Linked DNA regions of Homo sapiens: regions 1, 2 and 3 are each linked to region 4. The links are contacts of gene promoters, found by promoter capture Hi-C in blood cells and fetal thymus (Javierre and others, 2016). All regions are on one chromosome and are shown on one strand. Each heading gives the region's core, a stretch centred on a gene start or on the middle of the fragment in contact. The rest is flanking DNA. Distances are from core to core; before and after follow the strand shown. Region 1 overlaps GPRC5D-AS1 (GPRC5D and HEBP1 antisense RNA 1). Region 2 holds the start of FAM234B (family with sequence similarity 234 member B). Region 3 overlaps HEBP1 (heme binding protein 1). Region 4 holds the start of DDX47 (DEAD-box helicase 47).

What was found. The method cuts DNA at HindIII sites, captures the fragments that hold promoters and counts their contacts. A CHiCAGO score of 5 or more calls a contact.
Region 1: a fragment that was not itself captured here is called in contact with the fragment with the promoter of DDX47 in region 4 in 1 of 17 cell types (naive CD4 T cells); the score reaches 5.7 in naive CD4 T cells.
Region 2: a contact is called between a fragment that was not itself captured here and the fragment with the promoter of DDX47 in region 4, in 2 of 17 cell types (total CD8 T cells and naive CD4 T cells). The highest score is 5.8, in total CD8 T cells.
Region 3: a contact is called between a fragment that was not itself captured here and the fragment with the promoter of DDX47 in region 4, in 3 of 17 cell types (endothelial precursors, megakaryocytes and naive CD4 T cells). The highest score is 9.9, in endothelial precursors.

The regions. Positions count from the first base shown.
Region 1 is chr12:13,001,685-13,004,384 of GRCh38, forward strand. The region is part of intron 2 of GPRC5D-AS1 (GPRC5D and HEBP1 antisense RNA 1); the gene reads left to right. It also overlaps the pseudogene HTR7P1. Among named protein-coding and RNA genes, the nearest start is that of HEBP1, 2.8 kb to the left of the region's middle. RefSeq lists an enhancer at 100-645. The HindIII fragment of the contact is 621 bases long and covers 1,067-1,687 here.
Region 2 is chr12:13,042,778-13,045,477 of GRCh38, forward strand. It overlaps FAM234B (family with sequence similarity 234 member B), which reads left to right and starts at 1,604. Exons shown (of 13, transcript NM_020853.2): 1 at 1,604-1,663. The coding sequence starts at 1,627. The HindIII fragment of the contact is 197 bases long and covers 1,188-1,384 here.
Region 3 is chr12:12,981,966-12,984,665 of GRCh38, forward strand. All of the region lies in intron 3 of HEBP1 (heme binding protein 1), which reads right to left. All of the region lies in intron 2 of GPRC5D-AS1 (GPRC5D and HEBP1 antisense RNA 1), which reads left to right. Among named protein-coding and RNA genes, the nearest start is that of HEBP1, 17 kb to the right of the region's middle. The HindIII fragment of the contact is 2,444 bases long and covers 217-2,660 here.
Region 4 is chr12:12,812,073-12,814,772 of GRCh38, forward strand. DDX47 (DEAD-box helicase 47) reads left to right here and starts at 1,274. Exons shown (of 12, transcript NM_016355.4): 1 at 1,274-1,382; 2 at 2,059-2,152. The coding sequence starts at 1,296. RefSeq lists an enhancer at 1,101-1,410. The HindIII fragment of the contact is 15,992 bases long and covers 1-2,081 here.

The DNA.
Region 1 (2,700 bases), core at 127-2,626, 190 kb after region 4:
CTGGGACGCAACCCCGGGCAATGCCTCCGGCCGCGGGGAGCAAATCAAGAAAGGGCCGAGAAAGTTGTGATCGGCTCTGTCCTGACGCTCATCTCTCTGCGATCGCGGGCAACTGCCTGGTGGTATCTCCGTGTGCTTCGTCAAGAAGCTCCGCCAGCCCTCCAACTACCTGATCGTGTCCATGGCGCTGGCCAACCTCTCGGTGGCCATGGCGGTCATGCCCTTCATCAGTGTCACCGACCTCATCGGGGGCAAGTGGATCTTTGGACACTTTTTCTGTAACGTCTTCTCCATGAATGTCATGTGCTGCACGGCCTGGATCTTGACCTTGTACGTGATCAGCATCGACAGGTACCTTGGGATCATGAAGCCTCTCACGTACCCTATGAGGCAGAAGGGGAAATGCATGACGAAGATGATTCTTTCTGTCTGCCTTCTTTCCGCCTTTGTCACTTTACCTACCATTTTTGGTCGGGCTCAGAATGTAAACGATGATAAGGTGTGCTTGGTCAGTCAAGACTTTGGCTACACGATTTACTCCACCGCAGTGGCATCCTAATCCCCATGTGCGTCATGCTTTTCATGTACTAACAGATTTACAAGGCCGCCAGGAAAAGCGCGGCCTAACACAGGTTACCTGGCTTCCCTCGAGTGGAGCCAGACAGCAGTAGTCACCCTGAATGGCACAGTGAAGTTCCAGGAGGTGGAAGAGTGTGCAAACCTTTCGAGACTCCTCAAGCATGAAAGGAAAAAATATCTCCATCTTTAAGCGGAAACAGAAAGCAGCGACTACCTTGGGGATCATCGTCTGGGCCTCCACCATGTGCTGGCCGCCCTTTTTCCTCCTGACAGCCAGACCCTTCTGTCTATGGCACTGCCTGCAGCTGCATCCCACTGTGGGTGGAGAGGATATTTCCATGGCTGGGCTATGCAAACTCTCTCATTAACCCTTTTATTTATGCCTTCTTCAACTGGGACCTGAGGACCACCTATTGCAGCCGGCTCCAGTGCCAGTACCAGAATATCAACCAGACACTCTCAGCTGCAGGCATGCATGAAGCCCTGAAGCTTGCTGAGAGGCCAGAGAGACCTGAGTTTGTCCTACAAAACTCTGACTACTGTAGAAAAAAAAGTCATGATTCATGACTGAAAGAGGGATAATGGAGATGAAATAAACAAGGCAAAATAGAGGTGGAAACAGAAGAAAGTCATTTGCCAAGACTGCAGAATGGAATGCAGCTTCTGTCCTTTCTTAGGATGGCTAAAACGTGACAAACAGCATGACCTGATGTACAACATATCTTATGAGGGAGATGGTGACCTCTCCTTTTTTCTGTGGATCAGTGTTATTGTGTGTTCTCAGTTTAAGATAGCAGATCATCTCAGCAGTAAGCACACTGACAGAATTGAGTTCCAGAAAGGAAGCAGTTTCAGGTTCTTAGCACATGTCCAAATCCATGCAAGTGGGAGAAAGTTCCAATGCACACTTTCCATGCTTCCGAGTCTAGGTCTCGTGGTGAATATTCAGCAATCATTCATGAGAAAGAATGTATTTTGTTGTATGACAGAAGGGTTTACCAAGCAAACTGTGGTAAGCATAGTATCGAATATGTTGCATGTCCATTTTAGAAAACAGAGCCCAGTCATCAGCTAATACAAATGATTTCCCAGAGCAGTGTTTGTTTCAAGCTTCTGTCAAATAGTTTGGCTTTTCTGCAGGGTCCCTGTAACTTCCCCACAAATGTACTTCTTTGTTAATTCACTTATTGTTATGGTGTGGCTCAGGAACAGGTCTCAGGATGGAGAGCAGCATACAACCTGAACAAAGCTTTTTCTTGTGCTCTGAAGGGTCCTGAGACGTGAGGGGGATGCCTTCCATGAGGATTTTTATCTCAGTGAAGTGCGAGTGGTACCCACCTGTATTGTCATTAACATGATTATTGGCATGTTTTTGACTCTCATTTTTCACAAGGGTGCAGTGGGGCCATGGACCATCCCATGGGATGGTCCATAACTGTATGTTATATGGAAATAGTGTGGGAATAATGGGTTTTCCATGAAAGGTTGTGATGCTTCTGGAGATGGGGGCATAAACGTGTTCATTCTTGTTGAGCAGCATTGTGTTAAACCAAATTGTGTGAAGTGGAGGTCACCTGGACCACTCCTGGGAAATGCTCCAGAACACCAGTCTGTTCCTTCTAGAAATTTGTTCTCTGTATTTATTTTTATTTTTTATTTTGAGGCAGTGTCTCACCCATCCTGTCTCCCAGGCTGGAGTGCAGTGGTGCGATCTCGGCTCACTGCAACCTCTGCCTCCTGGGTTTAAGCAATTCTCCTGCCTCTGCCTCCCAAGTAGCTGAGATTACAGGCACCTGCCACCACACCTGGCTAATTTTCGTATTTTTAGTAGAGAAGGAGTTTCACCATGTTGGCCAGGCTGGTCTCAAACTCCTGATCTCAGTTGATCCACCTGCCTTGGACTCCCAAAGTGCTGAGATTACAGGTGTGAGCCACTGTGCCCAGCCTGTTCTCTGTATCTTAAATCAACTCTGTGCCAAAGCAGTTCTGTCCCCTGACTCCCACCCCTACCCACCAAAAAGTGGTAGACATGAAGGGCAGGTAAGGGAACAGAAAATGTCTCCTTGCAGCTATATATATTTTAAACGAACTGTGTAATAAGTATGAGCTAAGGAGACAGAA
Region 2 (2,700 bases), core at 36-2,535, 230 kb after region 4:
AGGAACTGTTTTGTCCCCATTTTGCAGATGAGAAAATTGAGGTGGGGAGAAATTAAGCAACTAACCCTCTGCCTGGCATCTAGGAAATGATAGAGTCAGGATTTGATCTCGGGAGGCCTGGCTCCTGGCTCCAGAGCCTGTGCTCTATCAGAGACAATGACATTTTTTTTTTCCAAGGGAAGAAAGGAGGTGAGACTGATTGCTGGAGACTCTCAGATTACTCCCACAGGATAGTCCTGTCTGCAGTTTCTCACGGGAATTAGGCAGCCTGCAAATGAGATGTATCTTGGAGCTTTTGTTGTGACACTCAGAAGTTACATTACCTTTCTATTTCTCAGCTTTCTCTTAAACAAAACAAGGAGAGTGGGACTAGATAGCCTCTAGGATCTGTTCCAGTTCTAAGATAACACAGTATTAGCATTCCTGCACTAAAATGCTGATCACTTGCGTGTGGGAAAGAAGCAAGTCAGTTCTTCCTTCTACACCACTGTGCCTGGTCCTGAGGCAAGCCAAGTTCAGAAGTCAGAGAGGGCCTGGGTGTTTGCATTTTCCACAGTGACCTCAGTGGGTGTTTGGGCAGCAAAAGTATTCACATTCCACTCAGTAGCTAGAGAGGAACACACAGGTATTCTCTATGTAAAAGGTAAGGATCCTGATTCATTTGGCAGCTGCTTTGAATTTTTTTCTTTAATTGAAAAGAAAGTACATTAAATTTGAGAAATACTATTCTAAGCTGCAGTTCCTATGTTAAAATGGAAAAAAGTTATGGAGGGATGAAGGAGATTTCCAGAGGGACAAGGAAGACAAAGTGGGGGAAAGCTCAGGGAGCCAAGGAAGGAGGAATTCCTGGGCATCGGGCTCTCCGCAAAAATCATTCAGGCAAAGCTGGGGTGATTACGGGGAGCGTGCAGATGCCTTAAAGGTCAAGCATTGAAATCTGAGGAGCTGGAGATGCTGCATCTATTGGATGTATGTACACAGTCGGATCCTCCTTCTACACCCTTCAACTAGAAGCTGCAGCGTAGGGTGCTGAGTAGACACCTGTAAAGAACTGGGAGCAATAAATGAGGGTTCGAGCTCCAGGAAACTTCAACTTCTACCTAAGAAGCGTAATAGAAACACTCTTACTAGGTGCCTACTGTGTGCTGTGTGTTTTAAACAGGTCGTATCATTTAATTCTCATTGCAAGCTTGTGAAGTAGGTAGTATGTCTTTAATTAAAAAAAAGCAGCGGCAGCTCAGTCGCCCCAAGGGACTTGCCCAAGATGGCCCAGCTAGTAAGTGATTCAGGCAGGATTCAAATCCAGTCTGCCTGATTTCAAAGCCCACGCACATTGCACAATCCACACCTCCTTAAATATCTCCTTCGAATCATTTTCACTGCAAGCTTACGGGGTATTTTCTCCCCATTTCACTGACGAGGCAAGTGAGACTCAGAGTGGTGAGGTGACCTGCATAGGTAGGGTGGGAGAAAAGCCTGCGGAGCGTGTACTCTGGCTTGGCCTCCCTCAGCTCTGTCCCCAGCAAGCGGGTCCCACCTTTCCCGGTCCCAGCCCCACGCACCGCCGCTCGGAACTACACTTCCCGGCAGAACGCGGGCGCGCGCACGCGCACCGGGGCCTCAGCCATGGCGACCGTGCTGTCCAGGGCGCTCAAGCTGCCGGGTAAGGAGTCGCATGCTTGCGACCACCCAGTCCCCGCCGGTGTTGGAATAAGGGGAGGCGAGGCTCTGGGGGCGAGGCCGGTCGGGCCCTGGCCTCAACCCAGACTCAGCTGCAGGCGCCCGGTGCCGAGGAGGGTGCAGTCCCTTGGGGCTGGGGTCTCTGTGCCACCAGAGGGCGAGAGGGGCGCCCAGCGGGGCAGGGGTCTCGGGCGCGGGGCGAACCCGGAGACGCGCGGGGAGAGGGCGCCGAGCAGGTGTTACGGCGGGGAATGTCAGAACGCCGGTCGCCGCTGTCCCGAGGGGAGGCTGGCGAGAGGAGCATCCTTCCCGAGCGCCGCGGACCCAGCACCGCAGGGACTCCGGCGCCTTCTGTCTTGGCTGGACCTGGGCGGGGGCGGCGGGACGGCGAGTGGCCCTCTGTGGATCATCCCCTCCACCTAACGGCAGCAACGACGCATCCATGAGGCAGGTGGGACAGGTATTTACGTCCCTTCCTAGTTTACAGAAGAGAAAATGAGAGTTATTTGGCTAAGTGAATTGTCCAAGGTCTCACAAGTATTGGGAAAGCTCGGCCTTGAACGTCAGGGGTCTTTTCACTCTAAATCCTGAGCTTTTGATTCCACTTGGTCAGTCTCCAGCTGCCGAGATTAAGCATGGGAAATGATTTGGCACCTATAAGTTGAAGATAATGTATGGAATCTTCTTTAAGGCAGCATTAGGGGTGATGACAACTTCCAGAGCTGATTCAGTACTTCGGGCAGCAGCTCCAAGTTTTTTTTCCTTTTTTTTTTTTTTTCCTCCTAAACCTCCAGAGTAGGATTGTACTGTTAGAAAGTTGATATTTAAATAAAAGTATATTTATTCCACCCAAGTAAATTTTAAACATTAGGCTTTAGAAAAATTGATGGCTCTACCTAGGTAAGTTTTAAGCATTAAGCTATAAACATTTATTTGCTGATAATTTGTATTAGAGGGAAAAGCAGTTGCTTTCATAGCTATCTCTAGAGAGGGCTATTTGGGTTTTGGTTGGATAGCTAG
Region 3 (2,700 bases), core at 189-2,688, 170 kb after region 4:
TTCATGTATCCATTCACCAACTTGTTTTTGTTTTTTATTTAGAGACGGGGTCTCATTATGTTGCCCAGGCTGGTCTCGAACTCCTAAGCTCAGGTGATCCACCTGCCTTGGCCTCCCAAAGTACTAGAATTACAGATGTCAGCCACTGTGATGGCCAATTCAACAGCTTCTTATTGAACACTTGTTATATTCTAGCCAAAGGCCCTGCCCTTGGGAAGCTTGCATTCTAGTGGGGAGAGGGCAATAAATAAATGAGCAGATAGAGATATATAATGCAATTGATTATAAGTGAAGCAAAGCAAAATAAAGCTGGATAAGAGGACAGAAAAGGACAGGGTGCTATTTTCAATAGAACGGCTGGACAAGGCCCCTTTTAATCAAAGTGAGGGGGCAAAGCAGGGTGCTAAGACTGAAAACCCTTGGTCCCAACTTCCTGTGGTTACAAACAGGGTTGAATTATCTAGGAACATGGGCAAACACTGGTCTGTAAATCTCCTAAGTGGTAATGTGGGAACCCCCTAAGAGTTTAGCAGTTGAGCTCTTTCTTCCAAACTTCTCTTTCTCTAGGCGGAACTTCCCAAGCTGCCAATGGCCTCCATTGGGGCCTGGTCATTTAGAGGGAAAAATGACATCAGCAACCTAGGTGCTGACAGCTGACAAAGTTCTTTCAAATGCACAATGAAACCGGCCTTTGCAATCATGCCTTAGAAATCTTATTTTATAGATGAGAAAACTGAGGCTCAGAAAGATTAAACAACTTGCTGCAAGTTACAAAATTCATAATTATTGGAGCTGAGGTTCTAACCCAAGTGTATCTGCAGTAACTTTGACTTTTTTATTGTTAATTCTAATAAAACTTGATCAAATTCTCAAAGGGAGGTGAAGTTAGGAGGAGGAGAATAGGCTAACATTTACTGAGTGTCTACCTCATGTCTAGGATTGAGTAGGTATTTACAGGTATTATCATATTTTATCCTCACAACACCATAAAAGCTAGGTACTCATGCCCATCTTACAGATGAGGAAACTGAGGTACAGTGAGGCTGGCAATATACCAAAGGTCCTATGGCCACTGAATGATGAACTGGGTTGGAGCATAGGTTACCCTGAAAATAAACTCCTGGTTTCCAACTTTTTCCTTTATATCTAGACATTTCATTTAAACCGTGAAAGTTTCATTAAGACCATCAAACTTCTCCTGCTGTTGGTCCCTATTGAGAACCTGGTGCTGAAATGAGCTGAAAAGGCCAAACTCTAACTTAAGTGCATAGAGAAAGGACAGTAGTCTGGAATGTTGCTGCTGGTCTAAGTGTGAGGATAATTCTATTGCCTCTTGTGAATACTAAACATATTCTGATAGTGCTATTTTTTTTCACAGCATTCTATTCATCTAAAAGCACCGGTAATTAACGATGCTAATAAATGTATAATCCCTTTGTAAACATCTCTTCACAAGGTCATAAAGAAGGAAGACTGAATGAAGGACGCCAGGCTTTCATTTTAGAATTAATTTTGTCATTGAATGCACTCACTGCATTATTTGATAGAGTACTTTTGCATTTGAAGTAGTACATTTGCCTTCTACCATCTCATTAACATTGCTTTCAACAGAATCAGAAATAACACAAACCACTGCAGGGTAATTTTGAATGCTCATTTGACTATGCAGTGACATCAAGTGGCGAGTTGAGGAATGATCATATGCTGTGTGAGAACTCCGTGTTAAAAATTCCATGGAGCCAGGCTAGACACCACATTTGGCACTTTCAGCTGTTTAGATTTCAGAGAATTAAAAGGAAATGGTCACCGACCTGCCTTTGATAGTACCCGTATACCCCTTCCCACCATAAGAAACCAGCGTTCCTTAGAGAAATGGCTAATTCTAGCTCTAGGGCAAGAAATGCTAAGATGTGCTCAAAACATCTCATTATACCAGCAAGCCAGGGAGCCATCAACGACTACTGGAGCTGTGTCAAAAGGACCAACAAACCAACTTGAAGAGGCTCCCGCTGGCCAACAGTGGGGCAATTAGAGCATCAATAAGAATAATATCTGTAACAAACTGAAACGTATCAAATATGTTTAAATTCATATGTTTATAATTACACTCAAAAAACGAAGATGCAGACCACTTTACCTTGAGGATGTTACAGAATGAAATTATCATTCTGAAAACTGGTAAATAAAGAGAAGGTATCAAGTAAGCATGTATCTGGCTTTTTCTATATGAAATAAAGGAAGCCAAATAGTAAACGAGGGGAAGTTTCTCTTTACTGAAATATTGCAGGTAATAAAAGAAGAAGGAGAAACAGAGAACATTATCGTTTTATGGCCTCTAATGGAACAAGACATCTAGGCAATGATGAACTATGGTCACCAACATCACTCAATCAGGGACAATCAGACACTGTGGGCCCCTGAAGGAAGTAAACACCACCACGTAGGAAATATTCTCACCAAAACTTCAAAAACTTGAATCTGATCTAGTCTTTAGTTTCAACTACTAATTTACAGGCAATACGGGGCTCAGAGGGATGTGGTAAAATGTCACGGAAATATAATCAGCAAAATCCAGTACAGATAATAAGAAGACAAATGATCCACAGATGGAAAGGAAGAATGTAAAGTTGTGTTGGTAAAGAAATTCACAGATTAATAAAAGCTTAAAAATGTACCATCAGCCAGGTGTGGTTGTGTGCA
Region 4 (2,700 bases), core at 24-2,523:
AAAATATTTCAAGTGTATCTTCTGTTGGATGTGTTTTAGCAGAATGTGATATCTGTGGGCCTATATTTTAATATACTTGATATATTTTATGCTTTTCTCACTAAGCACTAGGTTTTTCAGATCTAATCATATTGTTAAGGGCATGTTTGTAGACACCATGTTCACATTTTAACTATGCATTTTCCCAGTGACGGACACCAGATTGCCCCCAACTTCCCATCCTCAGGAATAAAACTGCAACGAGCACCCTGCGCAGTGTGAGACCCAAGTGACAGGCCACAGGAGGGCACTCGCTGGCCATGGGGCATGCAACATACAGCTCTGAATTTGCTGCTTTCCAGAATAGCCTTAGTAGCTTCACAGTCTTGGTACTTGGAATTCTCTCACTCTGGAATGATTATCTCCTGGGATCTTAAAGCGTTTTCTCCTGCTCAACAGTGAGGTCTTAACTCAAATATCACTGTCTCAGAGAGGCCTTCCCAATCTCACAGTTATCCCCACAACCCACCCTCCCCAGGTTACTCTGTAATTTTTATGTGAACAGGGTTTCACTCTGTTGCCCAGGCTGGAGTACAGTAGCACCATCTCCACTCACTGCAGCCTCAACTTCCGGGGTCAACTGATCCCTCAACCTCAGCCCCCTGAATAGCTGGGATTACAGGCGCATGCCACCATGCATGCCTGACTGATTTTTGCATTTTGCAGACACAGGGTTTCGCCACGTTGCCCAGGCTGGTCTCGAACTCCTGGGCTCAAGTGATCCGCCCGCCTCGTCCTCCCACAGTGCTGGGGTTACAGGCGTGAGCACACCCAGCTACTTTTCACAATTTGAAATGCTCTGTGATAGCTTATTTATGATCTGTCTTCTTTTTCTTCACGAGGGCAGGGGTCGCTGTCCTATTCACCAGCCATCTAGCATAGCCTTAGCAAATGGTAGGTTCTCAACATTATTGAATAAAGTAATGACATAATAAAAAAATAGTATTGTAATATCAATCCGTTCCAAACTCTATGGTTAGAAAAGCGGGGAACATAACTGGCGACACACGTAGGGAAGGCTCTTTAAAAGGGACCTAAAGGTCAACTGGAGTCCCTGGTGATCAGCCCCTTCTGCACTCGGATCTATTCCGCAAGCCTACGCGCCCATATTCACTGGGCCCCACCTGCCTAGCGGACGGGTGCAATCCCCGGCAAGCCCGCAGGGGGCGCGCAGAGCACGTCGTCCGGGGAGAACTAAAACTACATTTCCCAGCATCCCGCGCGCCGCAGACCCACTTCCGGAGACCTCACACAAGATGGCGGCACCCGAGGAACACGATTCTCCGACCGAAGCGTCCCAGCCGATTGTGGAAGAGGAGGAAACTAAAACATTTAAAGACCTGGTGAGAATGGATGACGCTGGCTTCTTTTATGTACTCTGGTGCTAGGCTCAGGGAGACCCCAGGTACCTTAGATCCCGCTCTGATAGTGTACAAAAGCATCTTGGGGCCTAGCTTGGGTTTTCCCCAGAATTTCAGAGGGCTGGGTTTCGGACGTGCTCTGAGTTTGGGTGGTGGGAGGGCTGCTGGGCCCTGAGACCCCCTATTTGCCCTATTCGCCACTTTAGTGTGGCAACGTTTGTATGTGCATCCAGGAGGTTGTACATATGGGGAATGGAATTGGTCTCTTTATAACTGGAGCTTTGGAGTCAGATGAACCAACCAGATTTGAATTTTGACACAGTCTCTTACTGAGGACAAGTTGTTACCTCTCTGTGTTTCTCTTTCCACATCTGTAAATTGGGGATAGTAATAAGTACTTACCTCGCAGAATTGTTGTGACGATTAAATGAGATGATACATGTAAAGCACCTGGCCTTGGCCTTGGTGAGCAGAAAGTGTTCGTTAAGTCTTGAGCTACTGTCTCATGGTATAGTTAAAGAGTAGGCTCTGAGATGCACAGTAAATACCTTTTAAATCAAATACAATGGTTGTACATGATGGGTCTGACAGTCAGTTAAGTAGGAGGGAGGTAGGGGTGTGCTGTTCTTGGCTAAGGTATATTTTTCTGAATTCCAAGGGTGTGACAGATGTGTTGTGTGAAGCTTGTGACCAGTTGGGATGGACAAAACCCACCAAGATCCAGATTGAAGCTATTCCTTTGGCCTTACAAGGTAGGTTGTATGACTTCGTACAGATTTAATATAAAGTTATCTCAATTAGATACCCCTTTTGAAAGCTGTTGCTTGCATACTTCAAGTGAAATAAGGATATGGTCACTAAAGGTACAAAGTTTGGGTAATGGTATTTGAAAATGTCATTCTCCAATTTTACTGAGCTTACTTTCTGTCTTAATAGCTGAAAGGGTTTGTTCTCTGCCACAGATGCTGACTTTAAGGAAGCCCTAGGTTAAAGTTAAAGTATATTAACGACAATCTTGGTAGACTTTATGCATCAGTGGGCGCACACTTAGGGAAGGATGCCTGGAACACATATGTGTGTCTTGAGGAGTTGAGAATTCTTGCTGTGAGCCATGTTTATCAGATTTGTAAAACAGTGGTTAAAGCAGATTGATGGCTACTGGAACTGAAACTAATGGGATGAACTTTTTTCTTTTTGAGATCTTTTTTTTAAGATGGAGTTTTTTTTGAGATAGAGTTTCGCTCTGTCGCCCAGGCTGGAGTGCAGTGGTGCGGTCTTGGCTCACTGCAACCTCTGCCTT